4 separate regions of the Homo sapiens genome follow, and all the other regions are linked to region 3. Evidence: promoter capture Hi-C in human tissues and cell types (Jung and others, 2019). All regions are on one chromosome and are shown on one strand. Each heading gives the region's core, a stretch centred on a gene start or on the middle of the fragment in contact. The rest is flanking DNA. Distances are from core to core; before and after follow the strand shown.

The links. Contacts are between HindIII fragments. The study calls those that stand out against the background at their distance.
Region 1: a contact is called between a fragment that was not itself captured here and the fragment with the promoter of RBM26 in region 3, in 1 of the 25 tissues and cell types used here (dorsolateral prefrontal cortex).
Region 2: a fragment that was not itself captured here is called in contact with the fragment with the promoter of RBM26 in region 3 in 1 of the 25 tissues and cell types used here (mesendoderm cells).
Region 4: a contact is called between a fragment that was not itself captured here and the fragment with the promoter of RBM26 in region 3, in 2 of the 25 tissues and cell types used here (dorsolateral prefrontal cortex and hippocampus).

The regions. Positions count from the first base shown.
Region 1 is chr13:80,227,517-80,230,449 of GRCh38, reverse strand. No RefSeq gene overlaps it. Among named protein-coding and RNA genes, the nearest start is that of SPRY2, 110 kb to the left of the region's middle. The HindIII fragment of the contact is 3,415 bases long and covers 1-2,933 here.
Region 2 is chr13:80,364,987-80,367,957 of GRCh38, reverse strand. It overlaps LOC105370276 (a long non-coding RNA gene), which reads right to left. Exons shown (of 4, transcript XR_001749939.2): 4 at 1,906-2,971. Among named protein-coding and RNA genes, the nearest start is that of SPRY2, 25 kb to the right of the region's middle. The HindIII fragment of the contact is 3,828 bases long and covers 1-2,971 here.
Region 3 is chr13:79,404,916-79,407,615 of GRCh38, reverse strand. It overlaps RBM26 (RNA binding motif protein 26), which reads left to right and starts at 1,361. Exons shown (of 22, transcript NM_001366735.2): 1 at 1,361-1,912. The coding sequence starts at 1,842. RBM26-AS1 (RBM26 antisense RNA 1) reads right to left here and starts at 1,307. Exons shown (of 7, transcript NR_038991.1): 1 at 1,139-1,307. RefSeq lists enhancers at 1,076-1,375, 705-1,696 and a silencer at 1,606-1,805. The HindIII fragment of the contact is 11,102 bases long and covers 1-2,700 here.
Region 4 is chr13:79,943,592-79,946,481 of GRCh38, reverse strand. No RefSeq gene overlaps it. Among named protein-coding and RNA genes, the nearest start is that of LINC01080, 66 kb to the left of the region's middle. The HindIII fragment of the contact is 4,166 bases long and covers 1-2,890 here.

The DNA.
Region 1 (2,933 bases), core at 31-2,530, 820 kb before region 3:
CAGATGAGTTAATACATGCTTATGCATCAGTATAATATGAGCCATGAGAAATCACTTAAATTGGGGGCAGAGAGCATAGACAGAGAGAAATTTATCCAGATGACAAGGCCTTTAAAAATAAGGAAGAGTTATTCAAAAAGTGAAAGAGAAAAATAGAGGGTCTGAATAAAACGAGAGTGAACCATATGAGCAAAGACACCAAATGAAAAAACAAAAAAAGAATCCTGATGCTTTGGGGACACTGAGAATGGCTACAGGGGAAACATGCAGGAGTTGCAGGAAATGAGGCTGAAGTAGGCTTGGGTATTATTACAAAGGGTCTTATGTGTCATGTTAAGCACCCAGGGTTTTAAATGGAAGGCATTGAAAATAGATTATTATACCAGGGAGTGACAAGATTTGTTTAGGATTTTAGAAAGGTCGTTTTGTGTATTTGGATGGATGGGAGTTCAGTTAATGGAGTGAGGGAAGCCAGCCTGATAATTGTGCTTCCAACAGTGACCCAGTTCTGATTTAGTCATTGAACATTTAATAAAAATTTATTGAATACAATCAGAGTGATTCAGAGACCATTTCCAAGGAAAAATAATAAGATTTTAAAGAAAAAAACAGTGGAAGCAGGGATGGAGAGAGAGGCAGTTACAAAATAGAGAGATGGATAGGTATAAAATAGACAAGAGAAAGAGATAATTTGCAAGTACTTCAAATGGCCTAATTGTGCTTAATCTATTATGTAAATATAATGCAGGAAATGACATTATTCTTAACAATATGATTTAATTTTACTTCGATTTTTTAGAATACAATTTTCCATTAGAAATATAAACATATATCAGAAAATAAGCTTATTTAAAATGCAGTGTTAAAATTAGGCTTGATGAAAACAATTTATTATTGCATGAAACAAATAAGCAAACAAACAAGCATGTTCTAGCATCCATATGTTCTTTGTATCTATGAACTCTTAATGGAAAAGTTGGCAGAATTAATTTTTTAGAAATTGTTTGTAATTACTTTTATTATTTATTTATATTGAGTTTATTTCCAAGAGTATTTAAGAGAGTAATTTATTCATAACACTATAACAAAATTATAAGAAGTATCATCATCATAACAATCAAAAGTTCTCTCTCAACTCATTGCAAAGCTCTGTATAATTACAAGACCATTCTTATCCATTGGTTACCAATCCATTGACCTGATTGTTAAAAAGAGCCTCGTACCTCCACTGTGCCTCTCGCCACGTGATCTTTGCAGACACCGTCTCCCTTTCACCTTCTACCATGAGTAGAAACAGCCTGAGGCCCTAACCAGATGCAAATGTCCAATCTTGAACTTTTCCAGACATCAGAATTGTGAGCCAAGTAAACCTTTCTTTCTTTATAAATTACCCAGGCTCAGGTATTCCTTTATAGCTACACAAAACAGACTACAATACATAGCATTTACATTGTATTAGGTATTTGAAGTAATCTAGAGAGGATTTAAAGCGTATGGGAAGATGTGGGTAGATTATATGTAAATGTTGTATCCCTTTATATCAAGAACTTGAGTATCCAGTGACTTTGGTACCCATGAGTGTCCTGGAACAATCCCCTATGGATACTGAGGGAACAATTGCTCTTGAATAATAAAAAAGTAAATTTTTAATGAAATTTTTATTGATCAAATTTAAAATATAGTAATAATTGAGTATAACTTTTGTGTAACATACGTCTACTAATGAGAATACAATTCTTTTGTGGGGATAATATTTTATTTAATTGGGGTTCAAAATTAGTGTTTCCTATGATCAAAATTGATTGCACATGTTTATCTGTTAATGTTGATTTGTAAAATGTGTATGATATTTTATCTATTTCATCTTGGAAAATGTGCTTTTAGACAGACACGTGTTTATTTTTAGCATCTGACTTTAACTGAGCTTATTTATCACTTGGAAATAATTTATATAAGAATTCTATTATGTTTTTTCCTGATATTTGCATTTTAGGATGTGATTACATCTCAGATTATTAACTTCAAGTTGAGTACTAGGCAGAAGCTCCTGAATTATATATTTAAATGGATTTTTTGAAACATAGAAATTTCCTTCATACTTGTACCATGTTTGGAAAATGTTACTTGAACTGTAGTAGGGGGTCAAAAGATACATGCACTATGTATTTTTGTAGGAATGAAGATCTTGCTCTTTATTTTAACCTTTGACAGAATGGGACATGTATAAAGCAGCTTAACATTACTGGTGATTTAAACAATGTTAGTTTTTGTCAAAATGTCTTCACTGAAGTATAAATTTCTCATGTAGTGCTATTTGACCTTGCAATGTTAGGGTGAGTTTATGAAGAAACATTTTCAAGTCTGCAGCAAAGGCTAACTTCCAAAGCCATTCGGTTTTTCATAATAGTGATTGAGAATCCTTCTTGCAGAAAAAAATCAATCTTGGTCCTGGGCTTAAAAAAAAATCACAGTTAAACTTTCTTACTGCTAAACCATCAAATTCCTGGGTGGTAGGGCAAGTCGGAATATTTAGCTTCTATTTTTGACCAAATAAAATCATGGAACTGATCATGGTTAGCTCAAAAGAGCACGTGAAATTTATACTACTAGTTCAAAAGCACATGGTAGATTAATTTATTTTCTGCAAAGCACCTGTTGGTGAATAATATAATAAATAATCACCAGCTGTAAACACTGTATTTTCACAAACTTTCTAAATTTGTTCAACTAAATGTTTTTCTTCCCCATATGTATTTTTAACACTATCAGTTTTAACATATCTTAGCAAATTTCCTTCCAGATTTTATTGAATTAGTGTTCTCTCATGCTCTTTGAAAATATTCTTGTCTGTAGTTACTACATGCAGACTATTCATAGAGGCTAATTCTTCCATCACTTTAAACTCAGCATTGTGTCCTTGAATAAATAACAAC
Region 2 (2,971 bases), core at 379-2,878, 960 kb before region 3:
TCCTGACCTCAGAGCCCAGCCATAGAAACTGAGTCTTGTTTTCGCTTTGATTCACTCCCTGTTGACTCCAGGTCCTCTAGCACTGGAATCCAAGAATTTATGCCCCCTCAGTCCAACCCCTCCACAACATCCACACCCAGCACTCTCTAAAGTCCTTTGTTGGGGCTCAGGAAGTGATACTCAAAAGTAAATATCTCATTGCTCACACTGTATAGAGCCCCGACTTTCATGGAAGCCCATCGGCAACACCACTGCCTGAAATGAGACACAACTGTTAACTGTTTAGCTAGACTGGCCTATTATCAGGACTGAGAGACTGATTCAATGGCTTATGAGACAATCTATCAATCAATTTTTGGACTGTGAAACTTCTTGAGGAAGTTTCAGAATGAGAAATGTTGGGGTTCAGAAAAAGAAACCCCAAAGCGAAGGCTTGCAAAGCAAAGTCTCTCTCCAACCTTCTGCCCTCCTGTCTCTTGCCCCTCATTCTCCCTGAGGCAAGCCATAGAAATTAGAACGCTTTTTCTCTAAAGTCAGTCCTAAAGCCTAAAAATACAACTCTATCCTTCCCCCATCTTTCTGTGTAATACCTGGCCATAAGGAAATTAGACCCTCATTCCAGAGGGGTCCTGCTCCATATCCCAAAGGAAAGCGTTAGCAAAAATTAAAATCCTAAGCCTCTCAACTGACTGAATAGACCCCCCTCTAGGCCAAGGTGATCTGAAAGAAACCTGAAGAACTAGTTCAGGCCATGACAAGAAGTGGGGTCCGACATGCCTTATTATACTCTGTTCTCTTCAGAGTTAAGACACCACTGACCAGCATTAACACTGAAATAGAGATCATAGGCTGGGTGTGGTGGCTCATGCCTGTAATCTCAGCACTTTGGGAGGCCAAGGCAGGTGGATCACCTGAGGTCAGGAGTTCAAGACCAGCCTGGCCAACATGGTAAAACCCCATCTCTACAAAAATACAAAAATTAGCCAGGCATGATGGCAGGTGCCTGTAATCCCAGCTACTTGGGAGGCTGAGGCAGGAGAATTGCTTGAACCCGGGAGACAGAGGTTGCAGTGAGCCAAGATCACACCACTGCACTCCAGCCTGGACAACAGAGCAAGACTATCTCAAAAAAAAAGAAAGAAAGAAAGAAAGAAAGAAATAGAGATCATAAGGCTGACGAAACAGATTCTTTGTAGCAATAAGATAGCAAATTCAACCTAACTCTCTTATAGTATCACATGACAAATAACAGGCCCCCCCCCCAAAAAAAAACAAAGTATTTTACTCCAAAATATATTTATTTGAAATATTTTTGGATGGCCCTGCAAAGCTGTCTCTTGTGGGGAAAATCTACATTCAGTAAATAATCCCCTTCCCTTTCCTTGTCTTTTCCTGACCCAGGAGAGATTTAAGTAAGAGTCTGGCATCTTTTATGTCCCATAAGAGACATTTACATCTATTATTTAAGAGGCTTCACCTACATAGTAAGAACCTTGATTTCCACAAACCTCCTTATCTTAACTCAAGCATTTCTTTATGCTGACTTCAAGTCATCAGGCAAAGCTTAATTATTATCATTATTTTTGTTTTGTTTTGTTTTGTTTTTGAGATAGGGTCTCACTCTGTCACCCAGGCTGCAATGCAGTGGTGCAATCACAACTCACTGCAGCCTTGACTTCCCAGGCTCCAGCAATACTCCTACCTCAGCCTCCCAAGTAGCTGGGTTTACAGGCATGTGCCACCACACCCAGCTAATGTTTGTATTTTTAGTAGAGACGGGTTTTTGCCATGTTGCCCAGGCTGGCTTTGAACTCCTGAGCTCAAGCAATCCACCTCCCTTGGCCTCCTGAAGTGCTGGGATTACAGGCGTGAACCACCACACCCAGCCAAGCTTAATTATTTCAACCAATTGTCAATCAGAAAATCTTTGAATCCATCTATGACGAAGAAGCTCCCCTTCCCCACCTTCCCCCCTCACTTTGAGATGTCCCACCTTTCTGGGCCAAACCAATGTATACCTTACATGCCTATAACTTCTGTCTCCCTAAAATGTATTAAACCAAGCTGTAACACAATCCTCTTAGGTGCATGTTCTTAGGGCCTCCTGAGGCTGTGTCAAAGGCCCTGCCACTCATATTTGGCTCAGAATAAACCTCTTCAAATATCTTACAGAGTTTGGCTTTTTTTGTCAACAAAATAATGCTGTACAGAAAGACCAAGAAAAATCTGGACAGGCTTTGCCGAGTTTCCTGACTCTGTCTATTAGCATCAAAGCATTAGATTTTATCCTTTTTGTCCAATCATATTTTATATGGCTATCCATACTTCATTGAACATCAGCATAAAACGCAACAATTTTCCCTGCATCTTTGGGTCTTCATTCTGAAGCCTCCCATATCATATCAAACTGTGCTTAAATAAATGTATTATTCTTTTTTCTTGATAACCTGCCTTTGTTATAGGGGTGTTAGCCATAATGCTTATGATGGAGAGGAAAGTAATCACCTCATTTCTGCCTCTACACTTTCCAGAGCCTAGAAATTCCACATCTAAACTCCAGCAGCAATGGCTGGATCTCCTTATTAGAAACTGCTTCTCCCTGATGTTAATTGTCACTTGCTAAACCTCTCCGTGGTATTTTCCAGAGTGTTAAAATGATCTGATGATGGTATCTTGCACACCAGTGATGAGTAAGGTTGATTTGGGAGATCTGACCTTCTACTCTGTTATTTCCTTTCTGTTTTACCATTCCGCAAGCACACCTCACAAAAATGACTTTTAAGAAGACAGCAGCTCTCAGTAGAGGACATACAGTTCCTTTTCTTTCCCAATGAGTGACACCTCCTTCCTTTCACTCCTTATTGCCTATTGCTTAGGGTTCTCCTCATTCTGCACCCCATTCCCAGCTTGTTGATTGTTTAGAGGCAACACTTTCTCATCTACTTTATCTTACTACAAAAACTCTCCCTAA
Region 3 (2,700 bases), core at 112-2,611:
TGTAAAATACATATAAAACCTACCGTTTTCATTAAGTATATGGTCCACTGCATTAAGTACATTCATATTGTGCAACCCACACAACACCACTCATCTCCAGAATCTAAATCATCCTAAACTGAAACTCTATTATCCACTGAAATATAACTCCTCATTTCCCCTTCTCCTGGGCACCCTCTCCACCCCTGCTCTTGCTACCATTCCACCTTCTGTCTCTAGGAGTTTTGACTACTCTAGGTACTTAATGTAAGTGGAATCATAATATTTGTCCTTTCATGTCTGGTTTATTTCACTCAGCTAAATCACTTTAATCAACACCCTGGTTATTCAGTAGCTGGATTCTAATTTGTATTCTACTCTATATGCTGTATTTTAAAACAAATGTCTTGCTTTGTAGTTCATAATCTTTCCACCTAATCCTTAAAGACACTTCACTCTAGCAAATTATAAACTCAAGAGTTCCTAAGAACAATTTAGCCTATCGGTGTCTCTCATAAAGAGCTTTTATTGATCTACTTACTGAAAATGTCTTTAGATTGTGAATATTTTCATTCCATTACAGTTCATGGAACGTAGACCCTTTGTAAAATTCCACCTAGTATCTAAATAGAACTCAAGCAGGAATCAAACTTATTTGATCACCCAGGAAAATAGTTTATTTATTTGGGTTGCTAATATGAAGACTCTCTCTTTTGATACTATATAATTTCCCGATCTGAGATAGGGCTGAATTTGCTCTAAATAAAGAGAATTTTAAAAATAACAAAACTTATCTTTAGCTGGGGGAAAGTGCAGGCTGGAAACTACCTGAGAGACGTGAAGGTTCTCTCACCTTTCCCTTGTGGGCAGCCCTCAGTCATTAGGGCTCTACCAGCAAGTCAAGTACTGTTGGACAAGACACTAATCCTCTGGCGGTCTCATTGGGCTCCATTAGACCAGCCTGTGTTTACAAACCTCGTTCACATCACAGCATACACAGAATATGATACTGGTAGGGCACTTAGGTAAACTGAGGAGGTAGTGTGCTCGGCACCTGGAACCTACGGGCCGCCTGGTGTCGCGCACGCGGGAGTGTACGCTCTCAAAGAGCGATCCATCCGGCAGGACCGTTCCAGCTGACAGGCCACGGCCGTCTTACCGGGGACGAGCTGGGGTTCCCGCTGTTTCTGAAGTCAGCGGTCTTTTCCTCCTTGTAAGAAATAAGGTCTTTATATCATAAAGGTAAGCAAAGAATAAAAAGGCACAAAGGCCGCAAGCAACGCACACACGCAAAAATCGAACTACAGCACTCGACCCGCGCATTCTCCGCCGACCTTACGTCTCTCCCAGCAGGCTCCGGGAGCCACCGCGAGACTTCATCAATTCTCGCGAGATTTACCGGCAGCCATCTTCTTGGGGGTGCTGGGAGCCGGGAAGACCCCCTGAATCGTTCCCATTGAGCTGCCCTTCGCCTTCGCTTTCTTTACTTTTGCCTTTTCGACGTAGCCAACAAGCACCTGGTCCCGAGGCTGAGAGAAGGCTCGGGTCTAAGCGCGTGTCGCGCTTCCGGTCTGGGTAGATTTGCTGGGGAAGAGGGAAGGGGGAGGGCCCGGGCAAACCGTTGCTGTTTCAGCCCGGGCTGGGGGCCGGGGACGGGGAGCTCCTGGCACCCCGTGCACTTGTGGCCTGCGGCGGTCCTTGCAGAGCTGTTCGCCGACCGGGGCCCGCGGGAACCTGCCACCGGCGCCTCCCACCGCGGCCCACGCGGGCGGCGCGCGGAGGAGGGGGCGGGGGCAGCGGCGGCTGTAGCGGCCGCGACCTGGGCGGGCGGAGGAGTGTGACGGGCCTTAGGGCCGCTGTGGATGGTTTCTAAAATGATCATTGAAAACTTCGAGGCACTCAAGTCCTGGCTCAGCAAGACTCTCGAGCCCATGTGAGTATCCGGGGGATATCTCTTTGCAGGGATGGCAGTGGGAGATAGGCGGACCCAGAGATCTGTGCAGTTTCCCCAAGTGCCTGCGGTGGAGGCCGAAGCGGTGAACGGAGGTCCCAGGGTTCTGTGGCTTCTCCTCCTCGTCCACCTCGCTTCCAGATTCAGGATACCCCCGAGAGCCTGAGTCGAGCTTTATTTTATTGCTGAGCTGCTCTCGTTTTCCCGTTATATATAGACCGTCTCCAACCCCCACCCGCAATATTTTCCGGGGGCCTCAAAATCGGTTTATTTTAGTGAAACCGACTGTATTTTACTTCCTACAGATTATTTTACCTTGTTTTTCTAAATGAAGTAGACGGCCTTTATTGGGGATTCGGGCAGTTCTAGCTTAAATCACTCACGTTTCACCTAAATATAATTCCTGAAAGCAAGGCCACGTCTCCCATGTGCTGTCTGGCTCATCTGCACCTCTCTTCACTGATTGAAGATGTAACAGGTGCTGAGGTGGCCAGTAAAATTCCCCTTTCCCGCCTACGCGTTCGTTAGCTTGGAGAGGAGGAAGAAAATTGAATCTTCATCCATATGGAATATTTAGCAGTTTTAAGTGGGATGCTATAGATAGATTTTGTGTTGGGGGCTGCGGTTAGAGTGCTGAAATAGTCTTAGATTGGAAAATTTAAGGAGTGTTTTGACGACTTGTTAATACAAAATATGACATGGACCAAAGTGCTTAATCAGAATTGGTTGATTTACAATAATGCAATGGGGAAAATTCACGTATTTAATAA
Region 4 (2,890 bases), core at 357-2,856, 540 kb before region 3:
ATTCTGTATAAAACCATGAACATATAGAAAAATCAGGGAGATAATTCTTTTCATCTAATTGAATGTCTATTGTGCACTCAATATGCAGGAGAGTATAAGATGACTTTTCAAGGGAGTAGAATAGAAACCTTAGACCATTTCTTGTCACTAGTAGGACACACCAAATGCTTTTTTCCTTTTTTTTTTCAGTCCAGTGTTTTTAAAACCCAAGCCTCTAGATTTGCATATAATTCAGGCAGTAAGCAAATATTGTATGTGTATTATTTCATTTAATTTCACAGCAGCACCATGAAGCAAATGTGTTAGTGCAGACCCTTTAAAAATGCATAATAAAGCTGACAAAATACAAAATACTCAAAGACTCAAGGCTAGGAAGGAGATAGGAACCAAAGAGGTAAGCTGAGACCAATGGTGTAGTGGATATCAGAGTTTTGTAAATACCTGAGTTTGAAGGTTTAGGTTTTAAGATAAAATGAAGTGCTAGAGACTGGAGACATGGCCTTGGGCCTATGAAATACAGGAGTTGGAACTAAACCCCCTGCATAAATTCAGGATCAGGAAAAGTACCTCATCAGTAAAAAGGGGATTAGAAAAATCTATCAAAAAGCAAAGGGAACTATAAGGTTACATTTTGGTTCCCCCTGAAAACTGGGTAGGAAAAAAATCTCCTCTGAGAACTTGCAACTAAAGTCAGCTGGTACACAGGTGTGGGGTTCAAATTTCAATTTATATAATTCAAATTCAATATATTTAAATTCTTTTTTTTTTTTTTTAGACAGAGTCTCGCTCTGTCACCCGGGCTGGAGTGCAGTGGCACAATCTCGGCTCACTGCAACCTCCACCATCAAGAGATTCTCCTGCCTCAGCCTCCCGATTAGCTGGAACTACAGGCACCCACCACCATGCCCTGATAATTTTTGTATTTTTAGTATAGGCAGGGCTTCACCATGTTGGCCAGGCTGGTCTCGAACTCCTGACCTCAAAAGATCCACCCACCTTGGCCTCCCAAAGTGCTGGGATTATAGACATGAGCCACTGCACCTGGCCTCAAATTTATACAATGTACATGATCTGAGAAACCCCAGGCTGATAAATTTAAAATCATACCCAAATTTAAGGGTGCCTAACAAAAAACAAAAAGGAACTCTTTAGAGAGACATACCTAGGCCTCAGGGAATTGCCAGATGTAGGGTTCAGAGGAAGATGAGCTCACAGCTCACAATTACAAAACACAAGCCCAATAAAACTATTTCAATGGAGCTGACAAAAGCCGTCAAAATGGAATTAGATGCTTTCAATTAGGACATTAAATATTGAAGCTATTGGGTACAGGGAAGGAGAAAAAAAGAGAGAAAGAGGAAAGAGATTTTTCTTGCAGGGAGAAGGAAAAACTTACACATAGCTAAATAAATTTCTAAGTGATCTATATTTAAAATATGTGAATATAATAAATTTGATATGTTAATAGAATTCTGTACCTAACAAATGAAGAATAAACATTATCTAGAATGCACAGAACATTTACAAAATCAACCATGTGCCAGGGCTTAAAGCAAATGTCAACATCATGTAAGCATAAATATCATGCAAATTATGTTCTCTAATCATAATACATGGATCCAAGAAAAAAAAAAAATAGAAATTTTAAAATGCTTTAAACAATGCTGAAAGTGGTACATCTCAAACAGTTTTGGTATTACAATGTTGCTAAGAACATTCTTGTATGTCTCTTGTAGGTCATGTACAAGTTTCTCTAAAATATATACCTAAAGATTGGAATTTTTTGGCTACAGGACATGGTCAGGTTAAACTTTTAAGATAATGTCAAATTGTTTTCTAAGCTTGTTGTATCAGTTTATGCTTAGCAGTTATAAATACAACATTATTTATAATACAGTTATTCCCAAATTTTCTGCATTATAATAAAGTATTTATTATAAAGTTCTAAATTTTTTGTATTATGAAAATCCTGGATTAAATATTCTTATATACAAATTTTTAAATCTTGTCCTTTTTTTATAGTGTAATTTCCTGGGACTGAAATTCTGGTCCCAGGTATGCACGCATATTTGAAACTTCATTATGTATTATCTCATTTGCCCTTCAGAAATATCCATGAGGGTCCATTTTTCCATATACTTGCCAATACAAAATAGTATCAACGTTTTCTGTCTTTGCCAATCTTATAGTTGAAAAATGACATCTCATTGTTGTTTCCATATTTTTCAGTTGGTTTTAATATCTTTTCATATATTTATTATTCTTTTGCATGTTTATTTGGGGATTTACGTTAAATTGTGAATAATTTGAATCAGCCTAAGAATATATATGATAATCATGTAGAAAATGCCCAAACTTCTCACCATTCTTTAGATATTCCCCATACATTTATATACATATTTAGCAATAATGACTTGAGGCCATCAATACTGTGGTAATAAAAATAGGTTTTATTAAGCTTTTATTGTTTAAGTTTTATTAAGCTTTAATTTTTTAAGTTTTTATTGTCATGTGGCATACACTTGACTAAGGACTTTACATACCTGGATTATTAATTAATTTTTCTATTCATTTAACAGTTGTTTACTCAGACCCAGGGAGTGACTGGTTGTGCAATGGTGAGCAAAACGAAGCATCTGCCTTTAACTCAGTGAGAGGATGACAATAAATAATCATCAAACACATCATTGCAAAATAGGAAGTGAAATAAAAAGAAGAGCATGATGAAATAGAGAATAACATGGGGTTGTGTATGGATGGAATAATTAAAGAAGGCAAGGGGATCCTAATGAATGAGAAGAAGACAAAAATCCTGGAAGGGAAAGAGCTTTCTTGCGGAAGGAAGACTATATGCAAAGACCTCAGGAAAATGAGAAACTGAAAGATGGGC